Linked DNA regions of Homo sapiens: regions 1, 2 and 3 are each linked to region 4. Evidence: promoter capture Hi-C in human tissues and cell types (Jung and others, 2019). All regions are on one chromosome and are shown on one strand. Each heading gives the region's core, a stretch centred on a gene start or on the middle of the fragment in contact. The rest is flanking DNA. Distances are from core to core; before and after follow the strand shown. Region 1 overlaps PC (pyruvate carboxylase). Region 2 overlaps KDM2A (lysine demethylase 2A). Region 3 overlaps PC (pyruvate carboxylase). Region 4 holds the start of KDM2A (lysine demethylase 2A).

Region 1 (2,700 bases), core at 85-2,584, 190 kb before region 4:
GCCCGGCTAATTTTTGTATTTTTAGTAGAGACAAGGTTTCACCATGTTGACCAGGGTGGTCTCGAACTCCTGAACTCAAGTGACCCACCCACCTCGGCCTCCCAAAGTGCTGGGATTACAGGTGTGAGCCACGGTGCCTGGCCTTCTTTTTATTTTTTACATATTTTTTTGAAACAGAGATGGAGGTCTCACTATGTTGCCCAGGCTGGTTTCAAACTCCTGGGCTCAAGTGATCTTTCCACCTTGTCCTCCCAAAGTGTTAGGAATACAGGCATGAGCCACCACGCCTGGCCAGATTAAATTTTGTCTTAAAAGCATAGGCAAGCTGGCAAGAAAATAAGGAACATTCAGGCTAAAACCCTAAGGAGGAGAAACAGGGAGGTAAGTTAACACTGAAGCTTTTATCTAGATGGCATTTGCAGAACTAGGCAAACCTGAGCTTCAGTTTTCAAAGCCTCAAAAGGTCACAGAAGCACGGCCCAGAGCCCAGCCACGGTGGGAAATCTAAAGAGATCTTACCCCCAGTGAAGTTGGGACTTCCAAAGGATACTCCCTTAACGTAACAGTGAACCACCAAGAAACTTGATGTACCCTTCCCTGTCCCCAAGAGCTACCTGCAAGAAAAATCAACTGTCTAAATCCTTGGCAGGTAGAAAAACAAAAGCAGGTAGAAAAACAAAAAACTCCCCCCAAGAAGCTGCAATCACAAAACAGCCCTCACACAGACTTGCAGTCCAAAGTTGTACTACCTGGGCGATCAGAAAATACTCAGTGCTCCTACTGATGGCAGGAGAAGGGCAAATTAGTTTTCAAAACCTCAAATCTTTGGTTTCGGATAACCTAGAAGAGTTAGACATGCCAGCAACTCCACTCCTAGTTTATACCCCACAGAAATTCTTGCTCATGTGTTCCAGGAGCCATATGTAAGAATGTTCCTGCTGGACGTGGTGGCTCATGCCTGTAATCCCAGCACTTTGGGAGCCTGAGGCAGGCGGATCACCTGAGTTCAGGAGTTCAAGACCAGCCTGGCCAACATGGCGAAACCCTGTCTCTATTAAAGATACAAAAATTGGTTGGGCATGGTGGCACACCCCTGTAATCCCAGCTACTTGGGAGGTTGAGACAGGAGAATCATTTGAACTCGGGAGTCAGAGGTTGTAGTGAGCCAAGATCACACCACTGCACTTCAGCCTGGGCGACAGAGCAAGACTCTGTCTTAAAAAAAAAAAAAAAAAAAAAAAAGTTCCCAGCAGGGTTATTCCTGAGAGAGGAAAAAAAACAAAAGGCAGACCAAGGCCTTCTTGGCAACAGGGCAACAGAAAGGATCAACACACTGTGGATATTCATTCAATGGAAAGCTCTACGGCAGTGAACATGAACAGAGCCATGTGCATCCACATGGACGAATCACAAATGTAATGCTGAGCAAGTCACAGAAATCTACTGTAGGATTCCATGTCCAGGTGTTCAAAACCAGGCAAAATTCAACAATAAGTTATTCAGAGGTTGGCTATCGGTGGGAAAACTAACAAGAACAAGAGAATAAATATCACAAAATTCAGAATAGCTGGGGTGCCAGGTGTGGTGGCTTACATCTGTCATCCCAGCACTTTGGGAGGCTGAGGTGGGCGGATCACCTGAGGTCAGGGGTTCAAGACCAGCCTGGCCAACATGGTGAAACTTCGTCTCTACTAAAAATACAAAAATTAGCCGGGCATGGTGGCACACACCTGTAGTCCCAGCTACTCAGGAGGCTGAGGCAGGAGAATCACTTGAACCCAGGAGGCAGGGGTTGCAGTGGGCCGAGATGGCACCACTGCACTCCACCCTGGACAGCAGAGTGGCAAGATTCCATCTCAAGAAAAAAAAAAAAAAAAAAAAAAGGAATAGCTGAGGGAAGGGACTTCAACCGGGGAGGGAACATAGGGGGCTTATATGGTCCTAACCTTAACCTAGGGATGGGAACATAGATGTTCATTTTACTATTTTGTTTTAACATACTCATATGTTTTAAACATGTCTTCTGTTAAGTGTGGGATTTTGCAATAAACAAATGGCAAAATGAAGAAAAAAAAACATGCAATGGCACACAGAGTACTGCAGACTTTTTATTTGTGCTGACATCGGACGATTTCCAAGATACACTGATAAATGAAAAGGGCATGGAGCAGAAAGGGCACAGGAGAAACAAACAATAGATATATGTTTCTGTAGCCGGGCGCAGTGGCTCACGCCTGTAATCCCAGCACTTTGGGAGGCCAAGGCAGGTGGATCACAAGATCAGGAGATAGAGACCATCCTGGCTAACACGGTGAAACCCCATCTCTACTAAAAATACAAAAAACATTAGCCGGGCATAGTGGCAGTTGCCTGTAGTCCCAGCTACTCAGGAGGCTGAGGCAGGAGAATGGCGTGAACCCGGGAGGCGGAGCTTGCAGTGAGACAAGATCACGCCACTGCACTCCAGCCTGGGCGACAGAGCGAGACTCTGTCTCAAAAAAAAAAAAAAAAGAAAAAGAAAAAGAAAAAAGGAAATATGTTTCTATTTCAAAGGGCAGACCACCTCCAAGAGGACAGACAAGATAATTTAACCGGAAGTGGCCTCCTGGGAGGGGACTGGGTTACTGGGGAGAGAGGAAAAAGGAGACTCATACATTTCAATGTTTGTACAAGGTGCAAGTATTACATAGCTAAACTGAA
Region 2 (2,700 bases), core at 134-2,633, 130 kb after region 4:
GGTCTGGATGTCTGTCTTCCGCTACCTCAGCCGCAGAGAACTTTGTGAATGTATGCGAGTGTGCAAGACGTGGTATAAATGGTGAGCAGGGATTCAGGGGGTCAGGAATTAGGGGTATGGGAGTAGGTGGCAGGTTTTCCATATGAGAACAGCATGCACCTTGGCATCTGAAAGCCTGTGGGGTCTTATGAGGAGTGAATTGACCCTTTTTCCCAAACTTTGGGTCCTGTTTAAAGATGTAGCCTGTTGTACCCGCAGATGTCATTAGGGAACTGGCCATTTGCCTCCTGGCCCTGCTCTATACTTTCCCATGTCTCATTGTTATGGGGAGGGAGACTGATTTGCGGGATAGATTTGTAGTCTGTGATAAAACTTGAGAGTCTTGCGGGCTGAAAATTTCCTCCTCAAGTCAGCTGAACTCATCACATGTTGGTTGAGAGCCTATGATGTTCTAGTCACTCTTCTGGTGCTGATAACACAGATAACCTCACTTAAGCCCCTGACTCAATTACCTCTCCATTCAGTGAGAGAAGTGGGCATGCTTTTCAAGATGAATTTGAAGGTGCTTAACATTTTTCTTCAGTTTTAATGCTCATCCCCCCAAACCTGGATCAGAATTCCCTCTTCCAGCAAGCAGAGTCCAGTTTTGAAGCTTCCTTAATGAGAGCTACCATTTCTTCTTAAGTTGGACAGACACTTGGGGGAAAAAATTGCTAGTGATGATGAACAAGGAGCTTCCCATTGGGCATTGTTGGTTTTTCCTTAAACTCTGGTATATATTTACTCTAGGATATATCCTTTTTATCTGGGTCACACACATCCTATTACAGTAGTGTGGTGTCCTGACCAATGGCATTCACTCAGGAACTTTTTAGAAATGTCAACTGTCAGGACCCTCATAGGCCTCTTAAATCAGAACCTCTTGGGTGGGCCCAGCAGTCTGCTTTAACAAGCGCTCCTCCAGGGGACTCTGATGCATGCTCGAGTTTAGAGCAGCAAAATCTGCTGTATTGTCAGCAGCTTGCTTCTGCCATAGAAGCTTCATGTGCCACTGGTAAAATTGTTTCAGTCTCTAAATAGACCCTATTCTTTGCAAACATGAGTTTATTTCCCAAATCTGAATTAATGTATAGTGTATCTAAATTCTCCTTAATATTTCTCTGTCTAGGGCTAATAGGACTGCTTGGCTCTACCTCTTGGTTTTCAGGGCAAGGCACATCAGATTCCCGTTATGTGCTGTCTCTCTTCCCCTGCCAACCAGGCTGGGGGGCAGGGGCTATAAAATATTAAATTGAAGCCAGCATGTTGTGGTTTGTGGCCTGTAGATTTGTAGACTGCAGTGGAAAGCCAGGCCTATCCCTTTCAGTTCTGGTCTGGCCTGGCTAGAAAATGTCAGGATAGCACTGAGGCAGAACTTGAGGGTGAGAGAGGACTCTGTAAGCCTGATAAAGAGCCTCTTTTGACCTGATACAGTAATGGGCTGAAGGCAGGGTGAATTGTGGATGTGCTGAGTAGCACCCTGCATTTCAGGCAGCTGCGAGTGATTGACAAGGGAGGGAACGGAGCAGGCCTTCTTAGCTTTAGACAGTAAGAAGTCTAGAAACTTCAAGAGGCTCCCTTATATACACTTCAGCAGGAACCATGCCATTTTAATACAGATGAAGGGGCTATAGACTGTTGCTTGCTATGGGTCCCTAACAACTGTTGTGTTCTCAAACACTCCAGAATAAATCAGGGTAAAGTGGTCAAGTTATATACTATCAACATGTAGGTTTGCAAAGCGTCTAGTTGTTGTAGAGTTCAAGGCAATTTTTTGCCTATTCTGTGAGGCAAAAAATGATAAGGTGTGATCCCTGTACACTTGTAGAAGAACGAGCCTCCAGGTACTCTGCTTTTCCCAGAAGCCATAAGCAGCCTGTGATGGGAGCTCCACTGATCAAGTTAATGAAGGCGAGTTCTCTTCCCTTCTATCACAGGTGCTGCGACAAGAGACTTTGGACAAAAATTGACTTGAGTAGGTGTAAGGCCATTGTGCCCCAGGCCCTCAGTGGCATCATCAAGAGGCAGCCAGTCAGCCTTGACCTCAGTTGGACCAACATCTCTAAAAAGCAACTGACATGGCTCGTCAATAGGCTGCCAGGTAAGTGAGCAGCCCTGCCGCTGTCTTTCCAGGGGCCCAGAAGAAGCGGGCAAGAAAAGTTGCATTATTGGCAGTGCTTCTTAGCATCACTGGAGGGCAGTGTAGGGCAGCAGTCCCATGCCATTGTTGCTTAGCAAGAGGTTTACCCAGGGCCATCTTAAGTGTCAGTCTCCCAGGCAGCACTCTGGACTGGCAGGCCAATCACTGCAATGGACAGCAAAGAGAACGGAATCAGTGTTGCTGCCAGCCCTGCAGTTCTCCTCAGCATAACCACTAAAGAGGAAATTTGAGTCAGATGTTACTTTGGTCAGCTCCTTATAAGCCCTTGTTCTCTTCAGCATTTTGAGCTCTTAGAAAGACAGGAAGTCACTCCTTCTTGTATTGCTCTGGTGGGAACTAAGCAATCAATTTACCACTAAAGCTAGAAGATGTAGTATAGGATACCATGGAAATCTTTGAGCTGGATGACTAAAAGATTAGGCATAGTCCTTCTCTCCTATTAGACTGGAAGTTTGTTCACTTTGCTCAGATCGTTACGGCTCTGAGTATGCTGGGAAACA
Region 3 (2,700 bases), core at 92-2,591, 170 kb before region 4:
ACTCAGTCTCAAAAAAAAAAAAAGAACTGACCAGGAACAGTGGCTCATGCCTGTAACCCCAGCACTTTGGGAGGCCAAGGTGGAAAGTGGGAAGGACTGCTTGAGTTCAGGAGTTCAAGACAAGCCTAAGGGCCAGGTGCGGTAGCTCACGCAGGTAATCCCAACACTTTTCGAGGCTGAGGTGGGGTGGATCATTTGAGGTCAGGAGTCGAGACCAGCCTGGCCAACATGGTGAAACCCCCTCTCTACTAAAAATACAAAAATTAGCTGGGCGTGGTGGTGGGCGCCTCTAGTCCCAGCTACTTGGGAGGCTAAGGCAGAAGAATCGCTTGAACCCGGGAGGCAGAGGTTGCAGTGAGCCGAGATCATGCCACTGCACTCCAGCCTGGGCGACAGAGTGAGATTCCGTCTCAAAAAAAAAAAAAAAGCCTAAGCAACATACCGAGATCTCATCTCTACTAAAGATAGATAGATAGATAGATAGATAGATAGATAGATAGATAGATAGATAGATATGCCAGGCGTAGTGGCACACACCTGTAGTTCCAGCTACTCAGTGAGATGGGAGATCACTTGAGCCCAGAAGATCAAGGCTGCAGTGAGCTATGATCACGCCGCTATATTCCAGCTTGGGTGACAGAGCAAGACTCTGTCTTAAAAAAAAAAAAAAGAAGGAAATGAACTATCAATACAAGCAACAACATGGACATATCTCAACATAATTATGCTGAGTAAAAGAAGGCAGAGAAAAAAGAATATATACTGTATGAGTCAATTTATGTGAAATTCCAGAAAATGGAAACTAACCTATAGTAACAGAAAGCAGTTCCATGGTTTCCTGAAGAGTGAGGAGGCAGAGGGAGGAATTCCAAAGGTGATGAATGTGTTCACTCTCTGGACTGCAGTGATGGTTTCACAAGGGTACACATATGTTAAAACTTACTAAACTGTATACTTTAAATATGTGCAACTTATTATATCTCAGTAATACTCCAATAAAGCTATTGTAAAAACTAAAATGTATCACGCCTGTAATCCCAGCACTTTGGGAGGCCAAGGCGGGCTGATTGCTTGAGCTCAGGAGTTCGAGATGAGCCTGGGCAATGTGGTGAAACCCCGTCTCCACAAAAAGTACAAAAATTAGCCGGGTGTGGTGGCTTGAACCTGTAGTCCCAGCTACTCAGGAGTCTGAAAAGGGAAGATCACCTGAGCCTAGGAGGTAGAGGTTGCAGTGAGCTGAGACTGTGCCACTGTACTCCAGCCTGAGTGACAGAATCAGACCGTCTCAAAATAAACAAAAATAAACAAACAAAACATAAAACGGTATAGGAAAGTTTAAGAAAAGTGTAATATTCAGCTTCATTTATTAGATTTACAAGAGTCATTTAGGTATTAGAGGGTTTTTTTAATCAGAAAAATGGAAGAATTATTATTATTATTTATTATTATTATTATTTTTTTGAGATGGAGTCTTGCTGTGTCGCCAGGCTGGAGTGCAGTGGCATAATCTCAGCTCACTGCAACCTCCGCCTCCCGGGTTCAAGCGATTCTCCTGCCTCAGCCTCCCAAGTAGCTGGGATTACAGGCGCGTGACCACCACACCCAGCTAATTTTTGTATTTTTAGTAGCGACAGGGTTTCACCATGTTGGCCAGGATGGTCTCAATCTCTTGACCTCGTGATCTGCCCGCCTTGGCCTCCCAAAGTGCTAGGATTACAGGCGTGAGCCACCCACCATGCCCGGCCAGAAGAATTATTAAAATAGTTAACTGAAGTTGAATATGATTTATAAGTTCAATTGAAACATTTCAGAAGTTTCATCAAATTTGCAAATGGGACCAAGCATTAATCAAAAAGCCCCCTAAGGCCGGGGCGGCGGCTCACGCCTGTAATCCCAGCACTTTGGGAGGCCGAGGCGGGCAGATCACTTGAGTCAGGAGTTCGAGACCAGCCTGACCAACATGAAGAAACCCCGCCTCTACTAAAAATACAAATTAGCCAGCATGGTGGCGGGCGCCTGTAATCCCAGCTACTCAGGAGGCTGAGGCAGAAGAATCGCTTGAACCAGGAGGCGGAGGTTGCAGTGAGCCGAGATCGCGACAGAGCGAGACTCCATCGCAAAAAAAATAAATAAATAAAAGCCCCCTGAAAGTGACTGTTAAAATGTCCTAGAATCGTAAATAGATCAGAAAGATTTATAGGCTACACTTATAAGCTAAACTTAAAAGACTGGCCCTTAAAATAACTAGGTTTCTGAATTCATAATTTTAACAAATTGAAAATCAATTGTTTTCGACCAAAGTAATTTCTGAATAATCTTTGCATTACATAAAAATCCAGGGGTAGGAGTGGGTGTGGCATCCAAACCTCCCTCAGACATGCCACGCACCAGTCACCCGAAACTCACCAAGTCGCTTAGTCTCTAGTCTCTCTGAACCTCTGGTTCCTCACACATTGCAAGAGACAAATATTTTCCAGAATAAATAATATACTTATTATTAATGATTTAATATTAATACATTTCACATTGATACACAGCATGTACATGAGAAGAGGCTCCAAAGCAGCATAAAGTGATGTGCAAACGTAATAAATGGGCAGCATGTGTCACTTCATAGTAACTGCAGCACTCAGTGACAGACAAGAGAAAGGTGACACACATCCCCAGAGACTAAGTATGACTCAGCATGGCCAGGTCGTG
Region 4 (2,700 bases), core at 62-2,561:
GCCCCGTCGCTGACCCCCGCGCGAAGCTGCGCGCACCAACAGGAGACATCTTCCCGGCCGGGCCTCCCGCGCCCGCCACGGCCCAGGGCGGCAGGGTCGGGCCGGGGGCCGGGGGCGGCCCGCGCACCCCTCCGTGGGGGGCGCCCCGACTCGCCGGGGGCGGGGTCACGTCCCACCCGGGCCGCCGGGGGCACCGGCGCGGCGGAAAGCTGAGCGTGGCCGAGGAGCGGGGGCTTCCTGGGCCACCTCGCCGGGCGCCTCCGGCCGGCGGTGGGCGCGCCGGCCGCCACCGCCCCCGGGCCGTCGCGGAGACCGCTTCTGCGCCTGGTACCTGTGGACGCCCTTGTTAAGCGCCTGCAGCACCCCCGGGGAGCCGAGCCCAGGACAGACATGCTACTCCTGTTTCCTGCCCCTTCGGAGCGACGAGCAGTGGGTGAGGCGGGGCCAGGCCGCTGCACCGAGGAGCCCCCGGGCCCAGGGCAGACGGGCCCCGTGGCGGCGGCGCCGGGGCCTGCCCGGGAATGGCGGGCAAGCCGGCCTCGGCCCACCGGCCGGCACGCGAAGGGAGGGCAGCCGGCGGCCATGCGCCCCTTCCCTGCGCCCTCTCGCCCTGGGCAGGCCTGAGCCGGGAGCCCAGGTCCCGCGGGCCCAGCCCGGCGGCTTGACCCCGGGAGACCCTGCTTTGAGGCGGGTATCGGTTGCCCTGGCCCAGGCCTCCCGGCCCTCAGGTTGTGTGACTGTGACGGGCAGCCTGGGGCCAAAGGCGGTTGAAGGGGAAGGGGACGCAGATCTCCCACTGCTTGGGGGGGGTGATGTGCTTTGTGGGGGGTCGGGGGTCACCACCCTCCCAGGGGGGTGGGGGAGGGCGGCCAGCACAGCTGGCCGCGAGGGGCGGGGTCGCAGAGGCGAAGTGTGTGTGAGGGTGTGTGGGGGGAGGGCGCGCGGAGGAGGATCGGTGCCCTGCGCGCAGGCGCGAGCAGCCAGCCAGGCCCGAGCCCTGGAAGAACGCCGACGGGGAGCGGGGGCGGCGGGCTGGCGGGAGGGAGGGAGGGCGGGCGGCCTGACGCGAGGGGGCGCAGGGAGCCGCGTCGGCGTCGCGGGGCGCGGGCGATTCGAGGCCGACGCATCCGCGCGTGCGCGCGCCGGCGGTGTGTCCGCGTTAGAGGGGAGTGACGCGTGCGCGTTCACGCGCGCCCGGGAGAGCGGTAAGAAGCGCAGGGAGGCCTGAAGGGGGTGGGGGGGTGGAGAGGCGAGCTGGAGGAGGGGTGGGGAGGTGGCGCCTGCGCAGTGCGCCTCGGAGGAGCTGTGTGTATGTGAGAGTCTGACGGGTTCAAAATGGCGGCGGCTGCTTCAGCGGCTCCTCCTGTGTGAGGGAAACAACACCCCTCCCCGGCAGCGGCGGCGGCGGCGGCGGCTCTCGGAGCACCTTCCCAGCGGCTGGGCCCGTGGCCGCTCTGTCTTTCCTGGGCAGGGGACGCTCCGGGAGGAGGGGCAACGCCAGGGGGCCCATCCCCCGGAATCCCTCTTCTGCGACTGGGGAGTAGCCGGGGGGCTCGTCCCGCAGCGCGGAGCCAGACCTGAGGGGGAGACGCGAGGGGAGCCAGGGCCCCCATCCCGGCGCGCCGCGCCGCTCCCGCCCTGTCCGCCCCCCGGGGCCGGGGCCCGCGTTCCGGGGGGCCGGGGCGGCGCGGGGAGCCTCGGGCCGGCCGGTCTCAGCTGATCGGCCGCTGCTCCCGCAGGCGACCAGCCCCTGCTGGCCGAGGGCACGGCGAGGAGGGCGCTCCCTGCGGCCGGGGCCGGCCCGGGGCTCGGGCCCGGGCTGCTGACCGCTGGCCTGGGGGAGGCGGGGGCGCCCCGGGCTCGGCGCCGAGGGGTCGCGCTCCTCTCTCCTGACGCCTCCGACTCCCGGTCTCCAAAGCCAGAAGAGAAGGTTTGATTCAGCAACTGTTTGCTCCCTTTTCCTGGTCGCTCTGACCCTCTCTGGATACTGGGTTGATCCACGGAAAAACCGAAGACGACGTTTGGGATTTAATTATTCCTCTCAGCTTTGGAATCTTTTACTTCTCACTTGGACAAGAACTCAAGAGCAGAATCTCCGGTGAGTTTCCCCCTCCCCCCCCTCATTTGGAAGTTTGGTTGACTGTGTTATCCAAAGACTGAATGCAAAGTTTCTATCTCTTTTTCCGATGGGTGAACCATTGAAACGCCTTTTCCTGGGGGAGCCCAGCGAGATTCGCCCTTTTTCCTCTCCGGCCCTGGCTGCTCCATGCCCAGGCGGTCGTCGCCCAGGGGGTGCAAGCACGGTTTCCCTCCCGACTTCGGGCCAGGGCTTCCTCCGGGAGGGCTCTGCCTCTAACTGCTCTGCAAACTGTGTCATCGGGTCCTCTGGTCTCGTAGCAGTTTTGAAAGGATGCTGTTAACGTGGCTGTAATGTAGTGACAAAAACGGGGGGAACCTGTGTTCTCAATGGAAGCCATTATCCACGAGAATATTTAGAAAAAAGAAAACCCTTTCTTGGTATTACGGATTGACCGTCGCGCCGGCCGGTCTTTTATTTAATTTTTGGACAAGATGTATTTTCCTTGTATCCTTAGATGCAATCGTTTATTTTATTACTTTATCCAAAAAGATCAGATGGAATTTTGGTCCTTGATTTGCACCTCTGAAATTTGTTTCAGAGTTGTGCACATCTTGTGTTGG

The links. The method cuts DNA at HindIII sites, captures the fragments that hold promoters and counts their contacts. A contact is called where the count stands out against the background at its distance.
Region 1: a contact is called between a fragment that was not itself captured here and the fragment with the promoter of KDM2A in region 4, in 1 of the 25 tissues and cell types used here (IMR-90 fibroblasts).
Region 2: a contact is called between a fragment that was not itself captured here and the fragment with the promoter of KDM2A in region 4, in 4 of the 25 tissues and cell types used here (IMR-90 fibroblasts, dorsolateral prefrontal cortex, hippocampus and 1 more).
Region 3: a fragment that was not itself captured here is called in contact with the fragment with the promoter of KDM2A in region 4 in 1 of the 25 tissues and cell types used here (dorsolateral prefrontal cortex).

What each region holds. Positions count from the first base shown.
Region 1 is chr11:66,929,524-66,932,223 of GRCh38, forward strand. All of the region lies in intron 3 of PC (pyruvate carboxylase), which reads right to left. Among named protein-coding and RNA genes, the nearest start is that of MIR3163, 3.6 kb to the right of the region's middle. The HindIII fragment of the contact is 5,380 bases long and covers 1-2,700 here.
Region 2 is chr11:67,250,718-67,253,417 of GRCh38, forward strand. It overlaps KDM2A (lysine demethylase 2A), which reads left to right. Exons shown (of 21, transcript NM_012308.3): 17 at 1-81; 18 at 1,977-2,140. Among named protein-coding and RNA genes, the nearest start is that of GRK2, 14 kb to the right of the region's middle. The HindIII fragment of the contact is 4,594 bases long and covers 1-2,700 here.
Region 3 is chr11:66,947,551-66,950,250 of GRCh38, forward strand. The region is part of intron 3 of PC (pyruvate carboxylase); the gene reads right to left. Among named protein-coding and RNA genes, the nearest start is that of PC, 9.5 kb to the right of the region's middle. The HindIII fragment of the contact is 7,176 bases long and covers 1-2,700 here.
Region 4 is chr11:67,117,952-67,120,651 of GRCh38, forward strand. KDM2A (lysine demethylase 2A) reads left to right here and starts at 1,312. Exons shown (of 21, transcript NM_012308.3): 1 at 1,312-2,098. LOC107984341 (a long non-coding RNA gene) reads right to left here and starts at 397. Exons shown (of 2, transcript NR_160735.1): 1 at 1-397. RefSeq lists silencers at 219-268, 409-688, 869-1,308, 1,449-1,518, 1,699-1,838 and 1 more and an enhancer at 749-798. The HindIII fragment of the contact is 11,710 bases long and covers 1-2,700 here.